Linked DNA regions of Homo sapiens: region 2 is linked to region 1. Evidence: promoter capture Hi-C in 16 types of primary human blood cells and fetal thymus (Javierre and others, 2016). All regions are on one chromosome and are shown on one strand. The core of a region is centred on a gene start or on the middle of the fragment in contact, and the rest is flanking DNA. Distances in the headings are between cores, read along the strand shown.

Region 1 (2,527 bases), core at 13-2,512:
TGTTCTTTCAGCTCGTTACGTAAAGATACATTTTTTTTTCTTTCTCATGACATGAAGATAAGCTTTCTTCTTACCAAAACCTAAACTGTGAAGGCAGCACCCAAGCCAAAAGCCTCGAGGCTCTGGTTTCTGTGGTGGGATGGGGAGAGAAGTAGGTTGCACAGATGTAGGATGCCAGCTGACTTCAGAACTTCCGGTCTCAGAGCTAACCAGGCTCGGCAAGCCACAAGAGAGAAGGAGCTTGCATAGGTGGAAGAGCAAAGAAAGCCAGTGCTGCAGAACTTCCGGTGCTCCTCCGCCGATGTCGGGCTGGCGCTGCTCCCGAGCCCTGTGTCCTGTGGAAGAAGTTGGTGAGAATCGTTTTGAATGTAGGCAGCCACTCCTGAGGAGGCTAGCCCTTGCTACATTAAAGGTGGAGCTAGATTTACATTTTATTTTATTTTATTTTATTTTTTATTTTTCGAGATGGAGTCTTGCTGTCGCCCAGGCTGGAGTGCAGTAGCACGATTTCAGCTCACTGCAACCTCCACCTCCCGGGCTCAAGCGATTCACCTGCTTCAGCCTCCCGAGTAGCTGGGATTACAGGGGCACGCCACCATGCCTGGCTAATTTTTTGTATTTTTAGTAGAGACGGGGTTTCACCATGTTGGCCAGGCTGGTCTCAAACTCCTGGCCTCAGGTGATCCACCTGCCTCGGCCTCCCAAAGTGCTGGGATTACAGACGTGAGCCACCATGCCCGGTCAAATTTACCTTTTAGATTCACATATTACCACCAGAAGAATGCTTCCTCTGACAACTGAGCGGTACTCCATCCCCAGAGCCCTTTGTGCAGACTATTATTGCAGTTTCCTAACTTGTTATGACACTCCAGCCTTTTCCTCCAGGTCATCATACAATCCATTTTTAGAGTGATTGTTCTAAAGCACAAATCTTAGGTCACTCCCCTGCTCAAAAACCACCCACTGCTCCCCCAGTTCCACAGAAGAGAGCTCAAATTTCTTAGCTTGGTATTCAAGACCTTCCATGATAGGATCCCTGTCTACTACTCAGCTTACCTCACTTCTCCCCTCCTCCAGCCAAATGAAACTGTTCCCTGTGTATGTTCAGGCTCCCTAGCTTCTGCTCACAGCCTTCTGAATATGAAGAAGGGAAAGTCCCTTACCATTCCATCCGTCTCTACCTGTTTAAATCCTCCCCAGTCTTCAATATTCATTTCAGAGGCTGCGTCTTTCAGGAGGCCAGGTACAATTTCTCTCCCTTCTCCATGCACTTCTCCTGCGGCCTGTGCCTTACATTCTAGCTGTGCGTATTTGTATACTTCCTGTTACACCTTGGTAACCTCATCAAGGGAGAGACTGACTCTGACATTCCAGTGTCTGAATTTCTTTCTTTCTTTTTCTTTTTCTGTGTTTCTTTCTTTCTTTTTTTTTTTTTTTTTTTTTGAGACAGGATTTCACTCTGTCACCCAGGCTGGAGTGCAATGGTGTGAGCATGGCTCACTGCAGCCTCAATTTCCTGGGCTCAGTTGGTTCTCCCACCTCAGCCTCCCGAGTCGCTGGGACTACAGGTGTGCGCCACCGTGCCCAGCTAATTTTTGCATTTTTAGTGGAGATGTGGTTTCACCATGTGTCTAGGCTGGTCTGGAACTCCTGGATTCAAGTGATCCGCCTGCCTTGGTCTCCCAAAGTGTTGGGATTACAAGCATGAGCTACTGCGCCCGGCCTCCAGTGTCTGAATTTCTTATGCTCAGTAAATGTCTTATGCTTAATACATCTTTGTTGAATTGAATGTGGTTATCTGAAATGTACCAAATTAAGTTTTAGAAAACATATCTTTTATCCCCTGTTGGAGGGGGTAGTGTGTAAAGAAATAAAGGAGCTACGCACTGGGTTGGTGTCTGTGAAAGGAAATATGATATGACTTCTTTTTTTTTGCAGAATTTCCCATTTTCCCATTTTATATTATCGAATGTTTTCCAGTCTCTTAGGCTCCTCTCTCTTCCTGCTGCCTTATCCTTTCCCTTTGACATCTGTCACTGGATGTCCTTACCATGATTTTGGATGGGGAAATGAGAAGATGCTTCCTGAAAGACTACACTGAGGGGATTCTCTAATAGATTTTCATTCCATGTGACTTTTTCTGGCTGGGGAGGGAGTAGGGGACCTTCCAGTCATCTCAGGCAGAAACTAATTCAGGTCCTGATCAACCCACTGCCTTAAATTTTAGAATGGTTGCTATAACAATTTTAGAATGGTTGCTATAACAAGATGCCTTAGGAAAAAAAAAATTGACAATGGCCAGAACAGGAAGGTGACTCCGTTTTACACATGTCCCTAGTCCCTCACCTGTGGAGAGGTGGTGAGAGTTTAACTGCTTGCTGTCTTTCCAAGAATGCACGTGGAATTCAAAGAAAAGAACAGTAGAAGGGAAGGAGAGGGTTTAAAGGAAAATTGTCATGGGCTTTGGAAAGACCTGATTGTGTAAAAATTGCTTGCTGGTGTTTGGAAAGAACCCAGGTGCTAACAG
Region 2 (2,527 bases), core at 8-2,507, 1.0 Mb after region 1:
TGAAGGGCAACCAGATGTTTGAGGAGGGCTTGGTGGACAAAGGTGACATTCATGCTCCACTATATGCAAAACTGGCCAAAGGAGAGGAAATGGAAAAATATCTTGGCTCTGACAATTGGTTCAGATGCAGTAAATAAAAGGAAAATGAACTTAAGAAATGCTTAATGGATGCCTAAAGCAGCTTGTGATGTAGGTATATTTTTAATAAATAGATGAACTTATGAGGAAATTGGTACCCATATTGATCTTTCAGAACAATGGAAAAAAATCAGTGAAACTGAGCGCTATCAGAACTAAGAAGATACATAAGTAGTTAAAACAGAAAACAAAAATACTTTTAAGAATGAAGTTTAGACTAAGTTGGGATGAGAATTTTGTACATGGAAACAGTACAGCTGTTCAACAATGGCAGGGAACTGCAGGGAGAGTATTTTTGGGTAGAATGTTAATTTTGTTTTGTGGAACAATAGCGATATGCCCTTGTGACTTGCACTGTACCTGTGTCAGTGGACATGAGTTCAGCATATTTTAATTTTTAATCCTTGCAGCACTGGAAGATCAATTCTTTTATCATCCATACTTTAGAGGCAGCAAAATCGAAGCTTTCTTCACCAGTAAAAGGGAATGCGAAGTAAATCACAACAAAATTCCATTTCACCTTCATCACACTAGAATAGCCAAACTTAAAAGTCTGAATTGGGCAAGTATTGTCAAAGTAGTGATAAACCGTCCCATCCAGTGCTAGTGGGAGTGTAAACTGGGGGTGGAAAGAAGGGGCTATGTCTAATATGTTTTATTTTTAATTTAAATGAAATATGACCAAGTAATAAGATTGGAAAGTAAATGTTTGTATATAGTGTTCCTTATCTTACATTTGAAATATTATATATTTTGTTTTCTTTTTAAATAACTGTGTTGCCGCAGATCAGGCGACTTAACAGAAGTATATTTTCTCAACGATTCTGGAGGCTAGAAATCTGGGATCAGGGTGTCTGCGGGGTTGGTTTCTTCTGAGGCCTGCCCTCTTGGCTTGTAGATGGCTGCCTTCTCCTAGTGTGTTCACATAGTCTTTCCTCTGTGTGTGTCTGTGTCCTAATTGGCCCACTTTAATGACCTCATTTTAACTTAATCACCTTTTTAAAGGCCCTGTCTCCAAAGACAGTCACATTATGAGATACAGGGGTTAGGGTTTTTCAACTTAGGAATTTGGGGGAGGACACAATTCAGCCCATAACAATAGCAAAGTTAAATAATTTAATTAAGGTCTCATAGCTGGTATGATGGATGAATGGAATTCAGACCCAGGTGTCTTTCAGTCTAAAGGTTATTCTCAGAATGCTACACTACAACCCTTTGACTCCTAGAGATGTACCCCAAAACTAGTTAGAGCTGTTTCCCCAAAGACTAAGAGATGTAGAGAAAACAATTTTACTATCTAGTTATGTGAAAGCTATAATTTTAATTTAATTTTTTGAGACAAGGTCTCCATCTATCGCCCAGGCTGAACTGCAGTGACGCGTTCATAATTTGAGAATAACACCAAGAAGAGAAAATGTAGAAACTGAAAACGCTGAACTCTAATGACACTGCTTTTTGGCTAAGTAGACTATAGTTGGCATTTGAATTTAAGAAGATAAAGAACAGTACATATAAGTAGAAAATAGGAAAAAAAGATGTCAGAGGAGGAACAAATGCTTAGCGGGTTACTACAGGAGGGTGCTAAAAGAATAATAATTGATATTTTATTAAGTAGGCATAGCAATAAGTCATAAGTGTCTTGAAATATAGTATCTGTTATTGTTTTATGAATGCAATTAATATAATAGTTTTGATAACACTGAATGCATATAAACATCACAAATTTCCAGATACATATATGAGCTTCAGATACAGAACTTCGAAATAAAGCTTTATGTATAGGTTAGTCACTCTTCCAACAAAATTATTGAGCACTTCATACATAGCAGGCTCTGTGCTAGGTCCTGTCAAAGGAGGGACTCTTAAGACCTTTGAGAGTTTCTGAGTTTAGTACTGAAACATAGCCAATCCGTGGAAGAAGTTCTATTTCTTGTAGTCCTTCACGTCAGTAATATAACTCACAATATGTGCATTTACCACCAAATTTCTTTAGCCATGTGAAAATAAGTTTAAAATGAATAATTATTATCTTGTCGTATTAAATTACCTATTATGTGAAACCTATAACTTTATTTATTTATTTATTTATTTATTTATTTATTTATTGAGATAAGATCTCGCTTTATTGCCCAAACTGAACTGCAGTAGCACATTCATAGCTCACTGCAACCTCAAACTTCTGGGCTCAAGTGATGCTCCTGCCTCAGCCTCCCAAGCAGCTGGGACTACAGGTGCGAGCCACTACACCCAGTTAATTTTTAAATTTTTTCATAGAGATGGGATCTCGCTATGTTGCCAGGACTGGTTTTGAACTTCTGGCCTCAAGTGATCCTCCTGCCTCAGCCTCCCAAAGTGCTGGGATTATAGGCGTATACCACCATGTCCAGCT

The links. Contacts are between HindIII fragments. The CHiCAGO score rates a contact against its expected background, and 5 or more counts as called.
Region 2: a contact is called between a fragment that was not itself captured here and the fragment with the promoter of ANKRD44-AS1 in region 1, in 2 of 17 cell types (non-activated CD4 T cells and fetal thymus). The highest score is 5.6, in non-activated CD4 T cells.

The regions. Positions count from the first base shown.
Region 1 is chr2:197,196,726-197,199,252 of GRCh38, reverse strand. ANKRD44-AS1 (ANKRD44 antisense RNA 1) reads right to left here and starts at 1,262. Exons shown (of 2, transcript NR_135584.1): 1 at 1,164-1,262; 2 at 1-335. All of the region lies in intron 1 of ANKRD44 (ankyrin repeat domain 44), which reads left to right. RefSeq lists an enhancer at 147-216. The HindIII fragment of the contact is 4,177 bases long and covers 65-2,527 here.
Region 2 is chr2:196,163,756-196,166,282 of GRCh38, reverse strand. All of the region lies in intron 1 of STK17B (serine/threonine kinase 17b), which reads left to right. Among named protein-coding and RNA genes, the nearest start is that of STK17B, 6.6 kb to the left of the region's middle. The HindIII fragment of the contact is 1,306 bases long and covers 605-1,910 here.